Linked DNA regions of Homo sapiens: regions 1 and 3 are each linked to region 2. Evidence: promoter capture Hi-C in 16 types of primary human blood cells and fetal thymus (Javierre and others, 2016). All regions are on one chromosome and are shown on one strand. Each heading gives the region's core, a stretch centred on a gene start or on the middle of the fragment in contact. The rest is flanking DNA. Distances are from core to core; before and after follow the strand shown.

Region 1 (4,108 bases), core at 77-2,576, 1.9 Mb before region 2:
AGACTGTGGGAAAAGCACAGTATCTGGGCCTAAGTGCAAAGTACAGTCCCTAATGACTTCCCTTGGCTAGGAGAGGGAGCTCCCGGACCCCTTGCGCTTCCCTGGTGAGGCAACACCCCACTCTGCTTTGGCTCACCCTCCTTGGGCTGCACCCACTGTTCAACCAGTCCCAGTGAGATGAACTGGGTACCTTAGTGGGAAATGTAAAAATCACCCACCTTCTGCATTGATCTCGCTGGGAGCTGCAGACTGGAGGTGTTCTTATTTGGCCATCTTGCCAGCCAGGGCTCCAGTGTTCCTTATTTCTTACATACGCTATATACCCCATGAAATTTGTCATTTAATCCCCCATATTTGTTGATCGCCTACTCAGAGCTATGTCCATATGTGTCTAAGACCTAGACATGTAGTGATGAAAAATGCACAGTACCCTCTTATAATGCACTCATCCTAGTGAGATATATTGTTATACTAAAACTGACCATTACCAAAAAAAAAAAAAAGACAGTAGTAATTATAATGATAGTGATTCCAAGGAATAGCACAGTGGCTGACACATATTAGAGGAGTGCCATGACTTTTTGTTGCATGAATGGATTAATGACAATACATTCAAAGCATTACTGGAAGACAAAGACATGAAAACTATCCTGTGACCATGCTGGAAGGCGCTTGACTCCTGAAGTGAATACATCTTAAGGTTAAGGTTAAAATCTCCTGACACATTAAGTTCCCATGAAAACCTTAGCAATTGCCACTTTTGATTGAATGTCTTCCATAGGTAAGGGTACAGAAATAATTATTGTTAACTGCTGAGTATGGATCACATAAGACTCAGACTGTCCCATACCAGTCTGTGTTAGTATATGAGTATGTGTGTGCACATATGTACATATGCATGTGCATGAATGCATTTAAGAAAAAGAGTGGGTCGGGTGTGGTGGTTCATGCCTGTAATCCCAGCAGTTTGGGAGGCCAGGATGGGTGGATCGCTTGAGCTCAGGAGTTCGAGACCAGCCTGGGCAACAGGGCAAAACTCCGTCTCTACTAACAATACAAAAAATTAGCTGGGCGTGGTGGTTCCAGCTACGTGGGAGGCTGAGGCGGGAGGATCACCTGAGCCTGGGAGGTGGAGGTTGCAGTGAACCAAGATCATGCCACTGCACTTCAGCCTGGGTGACAGAGTGAGACCCAATCTCAAAAAAAAAAAAAAAAAAAAAAAGAGAGAGAGAGAGAGAAAAGAAAAAGAAAAAGAGTGACACCTCTCCAACTATACCAGGGGCAGTACAAATGATCTGGAATCAGGATAGATTTAAATTCACCTCCTCCTTGGAAGTTACCAACCTTACTCTCATAGTTTCAGGGCCATGATGGTTTGTGGTTAAAGTTATGTCATCTTTTATTTCGGAGGTAACTGAGTTTTATTATCTATGTGAACTTAGGCAAGTCTCTTAAATGCAGAGTCTTGGCTTCTTCACTTTGAAAGTGAAGATTACAGACACATTTGACTTATGTGCTTATTTCAATGATGGAATTATATAAGACATGAATGTATGAGCTCTTAGCACAGGGACTAGAATACAGCAAATGCTCAGTAAATTATAGATTATTCAGAATGCCATGGACTTTCCAGACATAGCTCAGGTTTAAGCTCTAAGATTATTTTCTGCAAAGGTTATTTTGCTCCACATCTGCTAAGGGAGATACCTAGGTTGAGCATGGGGGAGAAATAGGCATATGTTAGCCCTAGTACTTGTGGGTCCAGCTGCAACTCCTTGATACTGTGGTGAGTTGGGGCTATCACACTGGATGTGCACTGACCTCAGACATGCCCATCTCTTTGCAGTGCATCATAGGCTTTCCCCAAGGGAAGTTCTGAAAGCCCCACTCAGAAAGCACAACACCAGGATGTTATAGACAAGACTTTGAACTTTAGAGGCAGGTAGCTCTGGATTTTAAAGAGGAAAATGAACTGAGCCCATGCTTTTTCTCTATATATCGTCCCTGTTTTCTCCTTCCCTTCATTGGCTTTGTTTACTCTGTCTCAATGCTTCCTTTCTTCCTTCTTTCTTGTTTTACTTTCTTATAGTCACAGAGCAATTTTTCATAGAAACATAAAACATTTTTAAATACTATTAACACTTGGTAATTCAAGCCCCATCTTTAAATTTTCTCAGCTAGAAATGTAGAAAAGTTTCTGCCTCCGTTGTGCTTTTTTTCTAACTAATCAGAACAATTTGGTCATTTAGGAATTGGACTAATTTTTCACTCAGAATTGTCTGAAACTTTTCTCACACCCATAATTCAGATCTCCTTTGTCATTCCATTCCATTCTCAGGTAAGGATATGGCACTGTATGTCAGAATATAACATCAAGCCTTCCTCTGTCTAAGCCTGGTGATAACATTGGTGGCCATCACACCCTGGCTGGGGCTACTAAGCATATTGCTGCAGAGCTCACTAGGTGAGCAGCCAGAGGAGAGATAGGAATGAGAGTAGTGATGAGCTTTTCCTGCTAACTTGGTATTTACTCTGTTCTGATTCAGACACATCTACAGGATAATTCAGGGCTCTGGACCAAGGAATAACCAGACATCTCTAAGAATGGCTCCTTGGTGCTGGTGGCACAAGAGTAACCTTTGTTTTGACCACCGGCCCACCAGTTGCACTGACCAACTGCTTTCAGATGGAGTTATTTAGGCTGTGCCAAGTGACTTGCACTGTTTCTGAACTCATAAATATAACTTGCAGCCCTCACTGGATTCATATTTGATCCCATGGGAGCTGGGCAAAGGAGACACACCTGAGAAGGCAATGTAGTCCTCTCTTCAAAATCACCACTTTCCTCAAATAGCCACAGTGTTACGTAGTTGGCCAAGCTGAGCTTCCCGGATATTACTTCCTAAGGATGTCATTTTCTAGTACCCTTTTTAGTCCCCAAATCAAAGAGTTATCTGATAGAAAAGAAATAGTATCTCACCATGATTAAAATTTTTATTACCTGATTAACTTTGATATTAAGTATCTTTTTCTGTGAAAGATGGGTGGGCGAAAGAAAACAGGAAAGTCATTTATGATAGTAACCACACATACCCAACAATACCTGAAATGTAGCAAGTGACACCATTTAATATCATCATAGTAGCATGCATACAACATTATTTTACTCCCATAGAAAAGAGTCAATTGGGAAGTAAACTAAAGAACTAAGAGTCATTATACATTGGTTGTAGAATTATGGCAACTTTTTCATTTATTGTGAAAACCTTCCCCTACTTTCCAAGTTTTCTCAAGTAAGGATTTCAAGTGCATATGGTGGGTTAAATATAACAACAAAATCTGGAATGAAGGGCTGGCATTACTGGTGAGAAAAGATTGAGTAAGCTGGCTCCAGAAGCATTGCCTGAGGGCATTCACTGAGGTAAAAGGAAGCAAGGGAAGCTTTCTGGGCCTTAACACTGAAATGCAGATAATTATTTATGATCTTTAATCTATCTTTACCCCAAGGCCACCTGGTGCACCTGTACACTGATGAAATCCTATAATGTGTATACAAGAAGGCTGCATTTCTAAGGGGTTACTTGTTGGAAAATTTTTACTTGACAAGGGCGGTTTTCAAGTGGTTCTATAAATGAGCCCAATAGGCAGGATTTTTCTTTCCTTTTATTTTTTCTTTCTTTATTTTATTTTATTTTACATTAAGTTCTGGGATACCTGTGCAGAACATGCAGGTTTGTGATATGGTATACATGTGCCATGGTGGTTTGCTGCACCCATCAACCCCTTGTCTAGGTGTTAAGCCCCGCATGCATTAGGTATTTGTCCTAATGCTCTCCCTCCCCTTGTCCCCCACCCCCGACAGGCCCTGGTGCATGATATTCCACTCGCTGTGTCCATGTGTTCTCATTGTTCAACTCCCACTTATGAGTGAGAACATGCGGTGTTTGGTTTTCTGTTCCTGTGTTAGTTTGCTGAGAATGATGGCTTCCAGCTTCATCCATGTTCCTGCAAAGGACATGAACCCATTCTTTTTTATGGCTGCATAGTATTCCATAGCATGTATGTGCCACATTTTCTTTATCCAGTCTATCATTGATGGGCATTTGGG
Region 2 (3,566 bases), core at 805-3,304:
CATATGTTGGAAATTTGATGCCCCATGTGGTGGTGTTGGGAGGTGAGGCTTAAAGGGAGGTGTTTGAGTCATGGGGGCACCACTCTTATGAATAGCTTAATGCTATTATTGAGGGAGTGGGTTTGTTATTTCAGTAGTGGGTTCCTTATTAAAGGATGAGTTCTGGCCCCCTCTTGCGCGCACTCTCTCTTTCTCTATCTCTTTGCCCTTCCACCATGGGATGATGTAGCAGGAAAGCCACTGTCAGATGCCAGCTCCTCAGTCTTGGACTTCCCATTCTCCAGAACTGTGAGGAAATAAATTTCTGTTCTTTATAAATTGCCGAGTCTGCAGTATTTTGTTACAGTGGTACATAATGGACTAAGACAATACTAATGGGTATGAAGTTTCTTTTTGGGGTGATGAAAATATTCTAAAATTGATTGTAGTGGTGGCTGCATAATTCTGTGAATATACTAAAATCCATTGCATTGTACACTTTAAGTTGGTTAACTGTATGATATGTAAATTATATATTAATAAAACCATTAAAACAGAAAAATAACAGAGATAAGAGCATTTGTTAAAATAGTGTTGTAGAATTTGGGGTAAAATTTCTTATATTTTAACTTTTGTGTAATAATAAATGATTATTTTAATTTAGAAGAGGTTCTTTGTACCACTGAGATTTCGGCATTTCTTTTTTATTTAATGCATGCCTATTTCTCTTTTTTCTTCTTCATATGCACATTGTTGTATAATTTTTTGGGCGTATTATATAACAAATGCAAACCCATTTTTCTCTGAATAATGTTGATATAACATTCTTAAGTTAATTTGAGAGGATGGTGATGTATAAGTTTATGAGTTTTAGGATTTATGAATTTGCGGGTCTCAGTTTTTGGTATTTCCAAACTGGCTCTTTTAGAAAGCAATAAGAACCAGACACCAAAGTAAAACATAATAAAGAGAAACAAAATATTATTTTGTATTCTTTCTAGTTCACACCCAAAGAGGGATCTATTTCAGAGCCTCTTAAGTAAATAATGCCATTTCCCTCAAAATTAATATTTGAGTTCTTACAGAAGACAAGAACAGGCCTTGTAGTAAGCAGTGAAGGACATTGAATCTCATTTTTAATGTCCAGACAATACCAGGGTTGTGAATAGAAAGAAAAGAGCTTTCCATGTTGGTGGTCTACTGCCTCTTACCCCCAAATTGATTGAACACTTTTGCAGTTTTTGTTCTGGTTCCCTGTCTCTGGATCTTCCCTGTGGGTCATCATCAAAAAGGTGTTCTCTTTGCCCAAGACAGGCTGGTTGAGCTCACCCTGAGAGCTGCTTTGGAGAGGATGTGTGGAAATATTTTTTTTCTTTTTTTGAGATGGGGTCTCACTCTGTTGCCCAGGCTGGCAACATCATAGCTGGCACAATCATAGCTCACTGTAGCCTCGACTTCCTGGGCTCGAGTGATTCTTCCACCTCAGCCTTCTGAATAGCTGGGAGTACAGGTGCGCACCACCACGCCCGGCTAATTTTTGTATTTATTTGTAGAGACGGGGTTTCGCCATGTCACCCGAGCTGGTCTCGAACTCCTGAACTCAAGGGTTCCGTCCACCTCGGCCTCCCAAAGTGCTGGGATTACAGGTGTGAGCCACCGCGCCCGGGCTACAATTATTTAAAAAAAAATTTTTGCGGTAATTTTTACAAATTTCAACATCAGGCATAGGAGGAGAGGAGTAAGAGGCCCAAGAGGGCTGCAGACTGGCAGGGAAAGTGAAGAATTGAAGGGTAGACCACTAACGATAGCAGAGGAAATAAAGGTAGATGGTGGGCTAAGAATAATGGGAGAGGGATTGACGAAAGAAGTATGGGCTGAGGGAGGGATGATGGTGGAGGCCAGTGTGACCGAGGGGAGGGGAAAGGTGGAAGAAGCAGAGTGGGATAGCGTCCTGGGAAAGAAGTGAAGGAGGTCGGTGGACCGCTAAGGGTTAGACTCCTAGAGGCTGGAGAGCGGCGCGTGGGGGAGGCGGGGCGCGGAGGGGGGGTTAAGGGGCGTTAGCAGCGCATGCGCTGGAAGCACACTGCGGCGATTCTGGAGAGGTTGTCCTTTTCTGGCATCAGCGTTGCGGCTCGAGGCAAAGCTGGTCCTGTGCCTGCTGTCCATTGCCGCTAAGGCCTGCTGCTGCCATTCAGGCGTGTCTCTCTCTCTCTCTCTCTTTCATGCCGCTCTCTCCACCCCATCTTGGGACGGCCAGCTCTAAGAATTCCTGCTACGACACTGAATTCAACCAGGAGGTAAAGGAACGATGTAGGGGAAGAACAGAACATGGAGGGCGGCGGAGGGAACTTGGGCCAGGAAGATCCTTAATTTGTGCATTTTTCCAGTTCACGGGAGGAAAAAATGGAATACGTTACAGGCCCCAGTTTTCCAAAAGGATGTTGAGCATTTGCTTCCCATTGTGAAAGGAATGCGGGTTCCTTTCCTCTAACTAGAGTCAAGGCACCTGAGCATCGGTGTTTTCCATAATGTTCCCTGTTTAAAACATTTGTGGTTCGTCATTTGTAGCAGATGTATTTAAAGGGCGAGGCCTTAGGATTATGTTCATCCGATGGTTTGTGAAAGTTTTCCTTGCCTTTGTTCAGGTTGACCGGTCTTATGTGAATCCTGGGGTACTCTAGCCCCCTCCCTTGGAGTTGGGACCGATTCCATCTAGATCTGGGATTCACTCTGATCACCTGCAACGCCTTCTTTCCCCGATTCAACTTCCCTAGTTTATCGCATCTACTCGCATTAGGGAAGGCTGGTAATGGCTCTCCTTGGGCACTGGGGCAGAATTGTGGCGAGAAACACGTCCAGATAGCATCAGGCATGCATACTGTATACAAATGGGAGCAAGAAGAGAGAGGACTATCGCGGTGCGCAGGGTATTTGAGAGGCTGGATGAGGAGGCGCGGCGCCGAGGGGCGGCGCTCAAGCTTACAGTATTTGAGAAGACCTGAGTTAAGGGGACGGGCTCCAGTGGGGCGGGGGTGGGGAGAGGGAGGCACGCATGCGCAAGGCTTGAATGGCGTCGGGGTTGGAGGGTTGGAAGGTCGGGAAGTGAAGGACTCGCAGGCATATTTAACAACGCAAAGTTGCTAGGAGTTGGTACCAGCGTTTGGGAGGTAGAGGTGGCGCTCATGCATATTTGAGACAACATCTGGATGGTTGGGGAGAACGGTAAGGAGGAAGCGGCGCGCATGCGTATTTCAGACGGAGTGCCGGGGAGGGGAGGCGCTCAGCATTCGGGTAATTAAGGTTGCAAAATGGCGAGGGGGGAGGTAAGCTGTCTTTGCTTGGCCATCTTGGGCTAGCAGGCCTTGCAGAGAACTACCTTTTTAGCTGAGTGAAGGGATCAACCTGAGTTGGAGTTCTCCTATGCTGTGGCCAGATCCACTAGAAATTAACCCAGAATCTTAGCCTCTCAGTGGCCTATCGGTAAGTGGGTACAAAAATGAGGAGGCGATGATGACTCTGCAAAAGGTTGCGGCAGCTGGCGGTGCGTAGGAAATGCGTAAAAAGGGAGCACTTGGAGACAGGCCACA
Region 3 (3,981 bases), core at 1,026-3,525, 1.1 Mb after region 2:
TGATTTCTAAGAATAAACATAACTTTCCATTTTGGCTTTTGTATATATGTATATTTCTAACGGCTGTTAAAGCCAGCATTAAGAAGGAGAAGCAGAAAGTCAGTATTGGGACTGGGGTTATTTATAAGCCAGGCAACTGGTTAATTGTGGTTAATTGTCTGGTATGTTTACTAGTCACGTAGTTGTATACACCATACTAGTTTTTCATCACAGGCCCTCATTCGCCCCCACTGCCATCGGACTTCCTCCTCCTCCCCTCACAGGAAATGTTTCGAGAATTTTTCAACCTAAAATCATATAGCTTGTGAAAAATACCGACAAACATAATATAGAATATTTAAATAACTGACACGCCACCTAAAGACCATCAGTGCTAATTCCTGGTGTTTTTAATCTTTGAAGCGTTTGTTTATCAGCTCTTCCACCATCCACCTCTCCCCTCCCCAGGTCCCCGATCTAAAATCAAAGAGATTGATTTAGGATGGGTGGGTGCCTTGTCTTCTCTCATTGTTCGACATTTTAGTTACGTTTTCTCTGAGCTCTCTGGAAAGCATAAAAGTATAATATCTGTTAAAAGTTGGATGAATGAACTAATGAACGCAATGGGATTCCAGAAAACTCTGCGGGAGATGGGCTAGAGGACGAGGAGGAGGTGGATGAATCAGCCATGTTAGAGAGCCTGGGAAGGTGAGCAGAGTTGAAAACTTGATAGATCTAATAATTTACTGGCTCTGGGTTTGTCAGTCACTACATTGCAGCAAATGAGATTAGAGCATAGTTGTGGGAGGGAAGGAGGTGACGCAGCAATCTATTTGCACCTAGAAATTTTAGGCAAGTGATAGCTGCGTAATCATACTGCGGCACCGTTTTTTTCTTGCAGCAGTAGCTGCTTGCGGAGGAGGTCTGCCCACTGCAGCTCTCTGCAGTCTCCGGCTCTCTCCTGCAGGATCGGTCAACGCAGCCGTCGCCGCCCTCTGCACCCAGCCCAGGTCGCCACTGCTTCAGTCCGGTTCTCAAAGCCTCAGCACCATCTTTTATCCCCGAGCAGCCTGGATCGTCGTTCCCTCAGTCCGGACGCCACTGCTAGGTCCGACCACCGCCGCTTCTGATATTTCGGTGAGTCTTTTCCTGTGGAGGTTTGGTCTCCCGATCTCTGTGGTAGCCACCTTAGGCGTGTACGGTCCTTTGAAAAATGGCCGAGTCAGAGAACCGCAAGGAGCTGTCAGAATCCAGTCAAGAAGAGGCTGGTAATCAGATAATGGTGGAAGGGCTCGGGGAACATCTGGAGCGCGGTGAAGATGCCGCTGCTGGGCTTGGAGACGATGGGAAGTGCGGTGAAGAAGCTGCCGCTGGGCTTGGGGAAGAAGGGGAAAACGGTGAAGATACTGCTGCTGGGTCCGGGGAAGATGGGAAAAAAGGTGGCGATACTGATGAGGACTCAGAGGCAGACCGTCCAAAAGGACTTATCGGTTATGTTTTAGATACAGACTTTGTTGAAAGTCTACCTGTGAAAGTTAAGTACCGTGTGTTAGCCCTTAAAAAGCTTCAAACTAGAGCGGCCAATTTAGAATCCAAATTCCTGAGGGAATTTCATGACATTGAAAGAAAGTTTGCTGAAATGTACCAACCCTTACTGGAAAAAAGACGTCAGATCATCAATGCAATCTATGAACCTACAGAAGAGGAATGTGAATATAAATCAGACTCTGAGGACTGTGATGATGAGGAAATGTGTCATGAAGAGATGTATGGTAATGAGGAGGGTATGGTACATGAATATGTGGATGAGGACGATGGTTATGAGGACTATTATTATGATTATGCTGTGGAAGAGGAGGAGGAGGAGGAGGAGGAGGACGACATTGAGGCTACTGGAGAAGAGAATAAAGAAGAGGAGGATCCTAAGGGAATTCCTGATTTTTGGCTAACTGTTTTAAAAAACGTTGATACACTCACTCCTTTGATTAAGAAATATGATGAGCCTATTCTGAAGCTCCTGACAGATATTAAAGTTAAGCTTTCAGATCCTGGCGAGCCCCTCAGTTTCACACTAGAATTTCACTTCAAACCCAATGAATATTTCAAAAATGAGTTGTTGACAAAGACCTATGTGCTGAAGTCAAAGCTAGCATATTATGATCCCCATCCCTATAGGGGAACTGCGATTGAGTATTCCACAGGCTGTGAGATAGATTGGAATGAAGGAAAGAATGTCACTTTGAAAACCATCAAGAAGAAACAGAAACATCGGATCTGGGGAACAATCCGAACTGTAACTGAAGATTTTCCCAAGGATTCATTTTTCAATTTTTTCTCTCCTCATGGAATCACCTCAAATGGAAGGGATGGAAATGATGATTTTTTACTTGGTCACAATTTACGTACTTACATAATTCCAAGATCAGTATTATTTTTCTCAGGTGATGCACTGGAATCTCAGCAGGAGGGGGTAGTTAGAGAAGTTAATGATGCAATTTATGACAAAATTATTTATGATAATTGGATGGCTGCAATTGAGGAAGTTAAAGCTTGTTGCAAAAACCTTGAGGCATTAGTAGAAGACATTGATCGTTAGAGCAGAGTATACATGGCCCTGAAATTAACTGCCCTAGATATAGTTACTCAAGGTATAAGAAGCCTTGTGTTCTGTATTTTTCTTGTAGTGTTAGTTAAAACATATGTTTCAAAAATATAAGAAAAGTTCAAAAACTAATTAATTTGACCTTGAGTTTTAGTAGTAGAATGTTTTCAAGAAATGTACACTGTGGTAAATGATTTAAAACACTAGTATAGTGTTGTGTAGCTTAATCCTTCTGAAGTCTTTTTGTCATGTAGCTATTAATCTGTGGCTATGAAATGATCAGAAATGCTAAGTGAGATCAATATTTGTTTGGAAAAAAAATCTTGGGAAACAACCCAAGGGTTTTCGCTGTTGTTGTTTTTCTTTTTCTATTTTTGTTTACTTAGTCCTTTAGCTAGTGGATTTAATTTTGTTGTGCCTGCTTCATTTTGCAATAACAATGCAGTAGAATTTAAAACTTGGATGCTTAAGAGGCCTGCATATAGATAAGAATTTCAGGCAAAACTACATTTATTGTTAATAACAGCTTGTTCATAGGCTCTTGTATTTTATGTAACTGTGATAAATAATGAAACTTAGTTATATTGAGGTTATTGTTTGTCGGTGAAGTGTTAGTCACAGTATTTTCAAAAGTTTGCACATATTGTTCTGTGTAATTGTGTAAGCCATAATTACAGTGTTTAATTCTCTTTTCCTATTACATCATTCATTGAAAGTGATCACTTTACCATTTTGAAAAGATATTTCGTGTTCTTTCACTGCAAAATAAAAAGAATAAAAATTTCAGAGTGTCTCATGTTTAAAACTTAATGTATTTCTTGTTATAAAAGTAATATGTTCATTGGGGGACATTTGGGCAATACTGAAAAAATTCATTAATTAAACACAAAATCCATATACCACCCACCTACCCCAAAATAAGCACTGTTAATGTTTTGATTTATTTTCTACAATTATATTTCTATATGTTTATACACGCATGCAGATTTACTAAGACTATACTAAAATGTGCAAAGAAAGTATACCTTTCTTAGTGTTTATAATTGATCTGTTCATAATCTCAAGTCTACTTTCACTACACAAGGTTGCAGGGAAACAAAATTCTCAATTCTAATCAATCCAGTAATCTCAGTGCTATTTAATAATTTAAGCACCCTTTTGAAATAACAGGTTCCTGTGTGTTAGTTTGTATTTCATATTTCTTGCCTACCCTTCCACAGTGTCATCTGGATATATATGGGATTGCATTACTAATTGTGGCTGGGCTTGGAGTGCAGTGCCCTGATTCAGGAAAATGGGATGTGGTTGATCAGACCCTTGTCCCAGAGCTGACTTTGCCTTTCTTGCATGTGGAAACAGGCTTTGCTTCTCCCTTTGGCAGACTCTGAAAAGGTCACATT

Evidence for each region. Contacts are between HindIII fragments. The CHiCAGO score rates a contact against its expected background, and 5 or more counts as called.
Region 1: a fragment that was not itself captured here is called in contact with the fragment with the promoter of FTX in region 2 in 1 of 17 cell types (M0 macrophages); the score reaches 6.7 in M0 macrophages.
Region 3: a fragment that was not itself captured here is called in contact with the fragment with the promoter of FTX in region 2 in 1 of 17 cell types (naive CD8 T cells); the score reaches 6.1 in naive CD8 T cells.

Annotation. Positions count from the first base shown.
Region 1 is chrX:76,155,201-76,159,308 of GRCh38, reverse strand. No RefSeq gene overlaps it. Among named protein-coding and RNA genes, the nearest start is that of PBDC1, 16 kb to the left of the region's middle. The HindIII fragment of the contact is 4,234 bases long and covers 1-3,443 here.
Region 2 is chrX:74,292,062-74,295,627 of GRCh38, reverse strand. FTX (FTX transcript, XIST regulator) reads left to right here and starts at 2,054. Exons shown (of 7, transcript NR_028379.1): 1 at 2,054-2,276. It overlaps LOC124905199 (a long non-coding RNA gene), which reads left to right and starts at 3,032. Exons shown (of 2, transcript XR_007068266.1): 1 at 3,032-3,566. RefSeq lists an enhancer at 2,800-3,566. The HindIII fragment of the contact is 8,135 bases long and covers 1-2,959 here.
Region 3 is chrX:73,211,704-73,215,684 of GRCh38, reverse strand. NAP1L2 (nucleosome assembly protein 1 like 2) reads left to right here and starts at 834. Exons shown (of 1, transcript NM_021963.4): 1 at 834-3,386. The coding sequence starts at 1,193. The coding sequence ends at 2,575. The HindIII fragment of the contact is 511 bases long and covers 2,020-2,530 here.